2 separate regions of the Homo sapiens genome follow, and region 2 is linked to region 1. Evidence: promoter capture Hi-C in human tissues and cell types (Jung and others, 2019). All regions are on one chromosome and are shown on one strand. The core of a region is centred on a gene start or on the middle of the fragment in contact, and the rest is flanking DNA. Distances in the headings are between cores, read along the strand shown.

The links. The method cuts DNA at HindIII sites, captures the fragments that hold promoters and counts their contacts. A contact is called where the count stands out against the background at its distance.
Region 2: a contact is called between a fragment that was not itself captured here and the fragment with the promoter of JAM2 in region 1, in 2 of the 25 tissues and cell types used here (dorsolateral prefrontal cortex and lymphoblastoid cells).

The regions. Positions count from the first base shown.
Region 1 is chr21:25,635,908-25,641,247 of GRCh38, reverse strand. JAM2 (junctional adhesion molecule 2) reads right to left here and starts at 1,990. Exons shown (of 10, transcript NM_021219.4): 1 at 1,360-1,990. The coding sequence starts at 1,426. RefSeq lists enhancers at 1,008-1,077, 980-1,480, 2,218-2,357 and a silencer at 1,808-1,997. The HindIII fragment of the contact is 5,846 bases long and covers 989-5,340 here.
Region 2 is chr21:25,308,806-25,314,145 of GRCh38, reverse strand. No RefSeq gene overlaps it. Among named protein-coding and RNA genes, the nearest start is that of LINC00158, 120 kb to the left of the region's middle. The HindIII fragment of the contact is 4,077 bases long and covers 820-4,896 here.

The DNA of each region.
Region 1 (5,340 bases), core at 741-3,240:
CAGAATACATAACTTTCTCAGTTGTTCTGTTAACGATTTCTCCAGCCTACCTCTCTGTTGCCTTTTAGCATGAGTGCATTTTTTTTCTTCTGTGTGTTCCATATGATACCAATTGATATTTCAGAATTGCACAAGGGTTTCATTGTGAAACTTTGGCTTTCTGGTTTGACTTTATATAATATTGGTCAGTACATGTCCCTTGCCTGAGACAATGTGCACCTTCCTCCTCCACAAAGGGACGTGGCTCACATCACTTGAGCTGTGCGATGATCACTTGGGCAGCGAGGGCGTGAGAAAATATCATTGTATTGTGGTATTAGACACTCGTCCCGCAGGTTAAGTATTATAAGTGTTACTTTACCAGAACGTGAATAGCAACAATAACTCATTTTACAAAAGAAAGAAAGAGAGACAGAAAGAAAGAGAGAGAGAAAGAAAGAAGAAAGAGAAAGGAAGGGAGGAAGGAAGGAAGGGAAAAAAGCAAAACAAAAAAGGTGAGAGAAAAAAGAAAAAGCAAAAGTAGAACTGCATTGCTTAGTCTATTGTAATTTCCTCCATTTTCCTAAAAAGTTAACGCGAAGAAAACAAAATAACGGCAACGTTCCCAGGATTTCAAATCTCATGAGTCCAGAATCCGTGAAAATCCTGTTTAAAATCATCCGGTGAAATTGGCTTTGGGACGTCTCCCCAGCTACTGGATCATGTGGCTTCTGAATCTTTCTAACAATCGTCCCGTTGGATGTCCCCTGAGGACAGAGCAGCTGGCTAGAGTCCCCAGACCAGACTTCTCTAAGTGAATGTAGATGTGCAGGTGGAGAGGATAAAAGTAATTCTGGCTCAGCAGCCACGAATTCCCTCCACCTCCGCCCCACAAGTGCGCTGCATATCGCCGGCTCAGCTGGGACGCTACAGAGCCCAGACCACGCGGACGCTGCCCCCTCCCCGGGGACTCAAAGTGTGGCCGGCGCCCGCCTCCCAGTGATGCCATCTTTCTTGGGGTCTTAGCATCTTACCAGTGGGTAGTGAGTTTTGCATTCGAATCACGTCCCTCTGTCTGAAAACTTACCCCAACTTTGCAAACAGATGAGAACCTGCTAGTGGGAACCCTTAATTTTCTGTATCTAGAACTGACAAAATCAGACGCAATTCACAAGAAACCCACGACCTCGCGCTCCCTTGCTCCCAGCGTCCGCTCGCGGGCACCCTGGGTTTCCCGCTCGCCTGGGCGCAAGGTCAGACGCCCCGCGGCGACCTCGGCCCAGAGCCGCCCAGACACTGTCAGCCAGCGCCCCGTGGGGGGCTGGAGGGTGGGGGCAGGCTGGTCCAGGCAGGAAGGGTAGAGGAACCCGAGCAACTTACAGCCCAGGGCGACCACCAGGTAGCGCAGCAGCAGCAGGAGGAGGCGGTGGCGGCTCCTCCTCGCCATCTTCCCGGGGCGGCAGCCGGCTGCTCTGAGGAGGTCGAGGGTCCCGGCGGCAGGAGCGCAGGAGGCCGGGGGCCCTTGAACTTCTGGGGCGGGAAAGGAGCAGAGAGTCGGGAGGGGAGGAAGAGGAGGGACGGCTCTAGATGGGATGTCAGTTTCCCCCTCCCCGGGGCGCCTTCTCAGCTGGCTGCCAAGAGGCGGGTCCTCCAGCCCAGGGATGGGGGTCTGTTCTGTTTTGGGGGTGTGGGGGTAGGGGCTAGAGGGCGTGAAAACCAGACGAGGCGTCCGCCGGGTCCTAGCGAGGGGGCAGCAGGAGGAGAGCAGCGCCCGGGAAAGCCCCGGCGGGTCGTCCCTCCGCCCCCACGCCTCCGGGATTGATCGGCTTTGTGTCTGGTCCGCGCGGGGCTGCCAGCTGTCCCCAGGGCGAGGAGCTGGGGGCGGGAGGCGCGGGCAGGCTGGGGGTGGGGGGATTGGGTGTCTCGGGGACGGGGATGTATGCGGGTAGGGAAACGCCTCCTGTTTTGCCCCAACTCCTTTCTTCCCCTCGTTGGCTCAAAACTTCTTTCTGGCTTTTCAGCCTAGGGGTGGAGATATTTGGAAAATTCTGCCCAACGGGCGAAGCTGAGGGGGTGGCGCTCTGAGGAGATGGGGTTCGCGGGCTCCGCCTCGAACTCGAGAAAAAAAAAAGCAATCAAGACTCGTGCTGGAAGTCAGGTCTCAGATTTTAGTACAGCCTTGGTCCCTTCTCAGTTTAAGCTTTTTGCTCCTTGGAGATTTGAGGTGCATTTGTCTCGCGTTCTTGTTCTTTGCTTTTTTTTCAGTGTCAGAGTTGGAAGTTCATCTAATGGTGTGAAATATTTATCATGTTTCTTTCAAGTTACATAACTGCTGCTTGTGGAGTTTTCCACGTGTTAAAACTCTACAGCTGCCCTTTGTCAGGTTTATTTTTGGTCTACTGTGCTTTTAAAAGGGAAACCCATTATGAATGCTCTGTTGCGTGCTTTAAAATTGCACCACACTTACATTGGACGCACGTACACTGGCAATTTTTATATTTGTTCCTAGGGACCAAAAATGTATGGTGTATTCAAGAGTATTGGCAGGTCTGGAAAAAGGCCATTCCCAGGAGAAGAAATTAGTATACATCAGTTTTTTTCTTTTGTTTTTTTGTTTGTTTTTGTTTTTGTTTTTTTTTAAAGGTTGAATAATGGATGAAGTTCTGTACAGCAGATAGTTGATTTAGTGGTGTATTTAAAAAGAATTCAGCTAGCTCAGTGGACAAAGGCGACCAGAGTTTAGCTGTGCAGAACTGTGAGGAATGAGGCATCCTTGCTGTTGCCGTGGTGACAGTGATGAAAACTTAGTACCCAGGGAGGGGGTGGGAGGAGAGGACCCAGGGGACCCAGAAAGGAAAGTCAAAATGGCAAAATGTTAAAACTCGTACTCCAGTCAACCGAGGAGAAGGGGCACAGATTTAACAACAGCTTATGCCAGTTTTTCTGGGCAGTAATGAGAAGGATTTGATGCTTAAAAAGAAAAGTTGTTGGCATCTTCTTTTTTCTAATTCTTGCTACAGCTATATGTCTTTTACTCCTCCCTAAAAATATACACAAAAATGTCATACTTAAAAAAATTCTATGCAATCCTATGTGAGTAACTGACTAAGTTATTTATTTGCCACCCAGCCAAGGCATTTGACAAATGGCAACAATGTGCTGGATGCTGAAGGACAACCATGAACAAGATAGAGGCTTTCTTGCTAACAAGCTCACAGTCTTGAGGGGAGACAGAGTCTTATCAGGAAAGATGCCTGATACCACATGGTAAATGTTACAGGAGGACAGAAAATAATAACAGCTATTTTTATTGCATGCTTTCTCAGTGATGGAGTCTGAATAACGCAATATCTAATCCCCCAACAACTCCATAAAAGAGGAAATGTTATCATTCCCACTTTGCAGATGAGAAAACTGGGCGGAGAGACACTAAATGGCTTGTCCAAGGTCCATGATAAGGGGCTGTTCCTTTTGTTGGGAGTGGGGCCAGGGCTTTCTTTATTAAACCTTGAAAAATGGGTCAAATTCTGAAGGGAAGGACATAAAGGAGAGGCATTCTACATAGAGGAAACAGCAGGATCCAGAGCTAGGAGATTGAAAAATTATGGTTTATTTAGAAAAAGCAAGGTTCTACAGTACTAAAGTGTATGTGGGATCGGGATAGTGAGGTAGGTGGTGGTGGTGGTAGAAACTGAAGGGGAGGTTAGAGTACGAAGAGCATTCACGCTACTGTCTAGACCTCATCCTACAGCTAATGAGCTTTTTGAAAGCAATGAGATAAGAAAAGACTCATATTTTAGAACTGTGGTGTCCAATATGGTAGCCTATAGATCTAAGTGGCTATATACATTTTTTTTGTTTTGTTTTTAATTTGAGACAGAGTCTCACTTTGTCACACAGGCTGGAGTACAGTGGTGCAATCTCAGCTCACTGCAACCTCCGCCTCCCAGGTTCAAGTGATTCTCCTGCCTCAGCCTCCTCAGTCCAGTAGATGGGACTACAGGCATGTGCCACCATGCAGGCTAATTTTTGTATTTTTTGTAGAGATGGGGTTTCGCCATGTTTGCCAGGCTGGTCTCGAACTTCTGACCTCAGATGATCCACACGCCTTGGCCTCCCAAAGTGCTGGAATTACAGGTGTGAGCCACCATGCCTGGCTGGCTATATAAATTTGAATTCAATTATATGTAAAATGCAGTTCTCCACTGACACTGATCACATATGAATTTCTCAATAGTCACATGAGGGTAGGGGCTACCATATTGGAAAATGTATTTCCATCATTGCAGGAAGTTCTACAAGAGAGTGCTGCTCTAGAATGATGACTCATATTGAAATGTGCAGGATGGATTACAGAAAAGAGAATCAGGGTGTTAGTCAAGTCTAAACTATTACAATATCCTGAGAAAGAGACCAAGTTGTGAAGTAAATGGTCACCGTGTGATAAATGAAAAACCGGGTGGATTCAGATGATATTTCACAAACATGGTCAACAGGATTATGTTATCAGCTAGATGTAGGGGTGAGAAAGGAGAGAACATGTAGGTATCAGATTTCTAGCATAGGTGGCTGTATGTGGAGGTTATAAATAGTGTCATTAAAGGAATAAGAAACATAGAGGGCATACATAATTCCTGCAGGTTTGGGATGAGTTGAGAGAGAGAAATATAGCTGGGGTGACCAGTAGACTGTTAGAATGAGTGCTCTAGAGAACAGGAAACCCTCAGGATTGACTAAAGAAATAAATATAAATATTAGCAGCATCTTCTAGAACAGTGATCACTGGACTATCTTCTCCCCAGAATCCTTTGGAGCTCCTTCATTATGATTCTTTCCTTAAAATTATGTTAAAATTCTGAGTTTCAGAAGTTTTAATCTCAGCAGCCCCAGGAAGCTGTATTATTAACAAGTACCTTGATTAATTCTGATGCAACGAATCTATGGATTATTGTTTGAGGAACTTTCTAGAAGGCAGGAGCAGTGAATGAGATCAATCAGACAAAGAAGTGAATGTTTATGGATAAATCTAAGGAAATAACTGCAGTAAGAGGTAGGAAGAGAAAGAACCCAGAGAAAGAACACAAGAAAGAGCAGTCAAAAAGTACAAAAGGAACTGGGAGAGAATCAGGAGCTAAAGGTGGAGGTGTTTGTACAGTCCAAGGCTAAAAAGAGGGTTGAGAATTGTCTCTTGTATTTAGTGTCTATGAGGGTATTGCCCACATGGATAATAGAGAAAGCAAGCCTCCAAAAAACATGTAGAAAAAATTTGCAGACTTGAGTTTTATACTTAGTAAAGCAACTAATGCATAAGATATATTAAAAATATTTAAAAATTTTTTTAATTATTATGGGTACATAATA
Region 2 (5,340 bases), core at 1,609-4,108, 330 kb after region 1:
TAGGAAAATACCCATGTGGGAAGAAATCAGAAACCAATGTAAATGTAAAACATTTTTTGAGGATCAGCAGGGGGCACTAAGATTCCACAGGAAAAACATCCCTGTACCCTTCATAAACGATTTTTCTTTTGCTTTAACTCCAAATTGATAACACCATAAACTCTATGCTTTTTTATCTTTATTATAGCTGATAGTGTATCTTTTCTTTTTAACCCTCAAAATGTAGGTGCACTTAACACATCTTTTTATCTACCAATTTAAAAAACTTCTGATTCCCTTATCTGCATTCTGGTTTGCTTCTCATTCAGCATTCACATCCAATGCTATTTTCCTCCCTTTGACAAACATAGAGTAATTAGAATTTTTCACAGACAAGTGATTACCTAATAAATGACCTTCTGCAGGCAGCTCTATTAAAATGGAGCAAAAACGATGTTTACTACAAGCGGTGGCCAAGAAGTAAGGTGCAGGGACAAGACAAGCTCTGCATAACCAAAAGCTTCTTCAGCTCTAAGAATAATGAAAGCATTTACTGAACTAGCAGATCTGTACTAAAAATAATTATAAGCCAGACAGAATGCTAAACCATAAACACAAATTATGATTGGCTATTGCAACAGTTCATTAATTCCATGGAAGTCCAAGGATAAGTTAAGGTAATAATGCTGATGTTCACACAGGACATCAACAAGTAAGAAAAAAAATCAAAATATATAAACTAGGAGAGGATGAAAAGAATACTGATCGATTTTCATATGTCTTTGCTGATTCTAGTACATTTAAAGGGTGAGAAAAAGTATGAACTCTCAGTGGAATATCTTTGAAGATATTTTTGTGAAGATGTAATTTTTTATAAAACAAATTGCTGCAGGGATCTTGAATAGAATATTGGATATAGCCATGTATTTTTGCCTGTACTCTTATTTATATTTATAAACTACTGTTATAAAAATATAACTTAAAAATGTAGGCTTTGCTTTAGTTTATACAGACCATGGCTTTAGGCAATTTGTAGATTCCTGGTAAACAACTTTAGATCACAAAACTTTAGACCTGTGAGGGGCTTTGTCAGTAATCTCAGCCAATCCTGTGACTTCTTACAAGTGAAAACTGTAGGTATAGAAAGATCACTCAGAAAGCTTATAACCTGAGCTAGTCAACAGGTAGCTGAACAAAATTATAGGTTTCCTGACTGTAGTCCAGTCTTCGCCATGCTTTCTTTCTTTTTTTTCCTCTTACATATTTTATTTATTTTTAAAATGGACAAATAAAAATACTTTTGTACAGAATGATGTTTTGAAATATGTATACACTGTGGAATGGCTAAATTGAGCTAATAACATATGTATTACCTCACATATGTTTTTTGTTGAGAACACTTAAAATCCACTCTCTTTGTGCTTTTCAAGAATACAATACATTATTAACTATAGTCACCGTGTTGTTCAATAGATCTTGAACTTATTCTTCTTACCTAACTGACATTTTGTATCCTTTGGCCAATATGATCCCCTAACCTCTGCTTCTATGAGTTCAACTTTTTTAGATTCTACATAAGTGAGATCATGCCGTATTTGTCTTTCTGTGCCTGGCTTATTTCACTTAACATAATATCCTTTAGGTTTATCCATGTTATTGCAAATGACAGGATTTCCTTTTTTTAAAAACAACTAAAGAGTATTTCATTATGTATATATACCATATATTCTTTATCTATTTATTGGACCCTTATGTTGATTCTGTATTTGGGCTATTGTGAACAGCACTGAAATAAACATGGGAGTGCAGATATCTCTTTGGCATACTAACTTCACTTCTTTTGGATATACATTCAGTAGCGGGGTTGCTGAATCATATGGTGGTTCTATTTTTAAGTTTTTGAGGAGCTTTGTATTGTTTTCTGTAATAGCTCTATTTATTTACAGTCTCACCAACAGTGTGCAGTGATTTCTGTTTCTCCACATCTTTGTCAACACTTGTCTTTCATCTTTTTGATAATAGCCATTCTAAGTAGGTTGACGCGATATTTCACTGTGATTTTGATTTGCATTTCTCTGATGAATAGTGATGTTGAACACTTTTTCATCTATCTGTTGGCCATTTGCATGCTCTCTTTTGAAAAATGTCTATTCAGGTTCTTTGCCCATTTTAAAATCAGATTGTTTTCTCGCTATTGAGTTGTTTGAGTTCCTTATATACATTGGATGTAATTATCAGATACACAGTTTGCAGTTATTTTCTCCCATTCCATAGGTTGTCTCTTCACTCTGTTGTTTATTTCCTTAGCTGTATAAGTTTTTAGTTTGATATTTTCCCATTTGTCTATTTTCACTTTTGTTGCCTGTGCTTTTAAAAGGGGATGTATTAAAAAAATATCAGCACTCAGACCAAAGTCATGGAGCTTTTCCTCTATGGTTTCTTCTAGTAGTTTTATAGTTTCCAGTTTTAAGTCTTTAATCCATTTTGAGTAGATTTTTAAAAATATGTTGAGTTGATTTTTGCATAAGGATCTAATTTCATCCTTCTACGTATAGATAACCAGTTTTCCCAGCACCAATTACTGAAGAGAAGCTATTCTTTACTTATTGTGTGTTCTTGGTAACTTTGTCAAAAATCAGTTGACTATAAATGTAAGGACATATTTCCAGGCTCTCCATTCTGTTTTATTAACAGATGTTTCTGTTTTTATACCAGTACCCTGTTGTTTTGATAAATATGGCTTTGTAGTATATTTTGAAATCAGGCAGTGTGATGCATTAAACTTTGTTCTTTTTGCTTAAGATTGCTTTGGGTATTCTGGGTCATTTCTGGTTACATATGAATTTTAGAAGTTTTTTTGTACTTCTGTGAAAAATGTCATTGGAATTTTGATAGGAATTGTGTTAAATCTGTAGATTGTTTTGAGTAGTATGAACATTTAACAATATTAATTATTCCAATCTGTAAATATGCAATATTTTTCCATTTATTTGCATCTTCTTCAATTTCTTTCATCAACAGTTTTTAGTTTTATAGTTTATTAGTTTATAATTTAATAGTTTCATAGTTTTCCTTCAGAGGTCTTTCACCTCTTTAAATTTATTCCTGAGTATTTTATTTTTTATTTCTTCCTATCTATTGTAAATGAGTTTGTTTTCTTGTTTTTGGATAGTTCATTGTGAATATATAGAAACACTACTGATTTTTGTAAGTTGATTTTGTATCCTGCAACTTTATTGAATGCATATTTTAGTTCTCACAGTTATTTGGTGCAATCTTTAGGGCTTTCCACATATAAGATTATGGTCATTTGCGAACAGGGACAATTTAACTTCTCCCTTTCCAATTTGGATGCCCTTTATTTCTGTCACTTGTCTAATTGCTCTGGCTAGGACTTCCAGTACTATGTTGAATAGAAATGATAAGTGGGCATTCTTGCCTTGTTCCCAATCTTAAAGAAAAAACGTTTAGCTTTTCACCATTGAGTATGATGTTAGCTGTGAGTTTGCCAAATACGGCCTTTAATATTTCATTTGTGGTTATCATGAAACTTACATAAAACATAGTTATAACAGGCTATTTTAAGCTGATAATCTTAACATCTGAATGTTGATTGTATAAAATAATATTACATTTTTACTCAATCTCCCTGCATTAAATGTTTTGATTCAAAATTTACCTCTTTTTGCATTGTGTATTCCTTAACAAATTATTGTAGTTATTTTTATTTTAAATAGTTTTGTCTTTTGACCTTCACAATAAAGACATGTAATTTATACCCTACCATCACAGTATTTGAATATTCTTAATTTGACCATGTACTTATTTTTAGTAGTGATTTTTATACTTTAATATATTTTCATGTTTCTAAGTGTCCTTTCCTTTCAGCCTGAAGAAATCTCTTTAGTATTTCTTATAAGACAGGTCTGGTGGTGATGAACTCTTTGTTTTTGTTCATTTGGGAAAATGTGTGTCACTGCATTTCTCAAGAACAGCTTTGCCAGGTGCCTTACAGTTGGTGTTGGTTGGCGTTTTTCTTCCTTCAGCTATATATATATATATATATACACACATATATATATATCACTGGCCTTATTGGAACTCCTTATATGTCATTTGCTTTTTTTCTCTTACTGTATTCAGGTTCCTCTCCTTGTCTTTGATATTTGACAGTTTGATTATAATATATGTTTGTGTATTCCTGTTTGGAATTAATCTGATAGAAGACTTTTGAATTTTCTATAGTTGGATATGTATATGCTTCCCATATTTGGAAAGTTTATGCTATTATTTCTTTAAATAAGCTTTCTTCTATTTATCTCTGCTTTGTCTTCTTCACAAACTTCTATCTCTCAAATATTTCCGCTTTTGATGCTGTTTCATAAATCCAAGAAGTTTTCTTCATTCCTTTTTTCTTTTTTTGACTATATTTTAAATATACTGTCTTCTAGTTTAGAGTTTATTTCTCCTGCTTGACCAGTTCTGCTATTGATGATCTCTATTGTAATTTTCATTTCACTCATTGTATTTTTCACCTCCAGAATTTCTGTTTGATTTTTAAAATAATTTTAATTTCTTTTGAAAGTTCCTCACTTTGGTCATTTATTTTATTGCTAAGTTTATTAAATTATTTCTCTGTATTTTCTTAAAGGTCACTGAAATTCTTTAAAACATTATTTTAAGTTCTTTGTCAGGCAGTATTTATATCCCCATTTCTTTGGGGATCAGCTACTGGAAGATTATGATGTTATTTTGGCAGTGTTTGTTGTTGTTGTTGTTGTGTTTTTTATGTTTCTTATTGTCTTATGAAGTCTGTACATTTGAAGAAGTAGAGACTTATTTCAATCTTTGCAGACTGGCTTTGTTAGGGGAAGCCCTTCACAAGGCATGTTGTAGGCAGGCTTGAGTCTGCTAGTCCTTGGGCAGGCTGGACTGATACCTGGGTTAGCAGATAGACAGGCCTGCCACCTGTGTTCATTGGGGTGGATCTGGAGTTTGATTTCACTAGGTTGGACTTGTTGACTGGGTTCCCAGGGCTGGTGGTGGAGTCTGTATCCATGGGGGCTGGCCTGAAACCTGGGTCCACATTGCTTGAACTGGCACTAGGGTAGTCCTTGAGCCTGAGTCTGCAAGGGCCAGCCAGACACTGAGATGAGCATGGCACCTGGGTTCACTAGAATAGGTTTAGAGGCTGAGTCCATGGGAACTGTCCCAGTGCTAGGTGGCCGGGAACCTGAGTCCATGGGGATAGATTTGGGTCCTGAATCCATGGGGGCTATTCTGGAGCCTAGGTCTGCAGAGGTGATTCTGGAGCCTCATTTCATGGGAGCCAACTTGGCACTGTGGTCTACAGGGACGAGC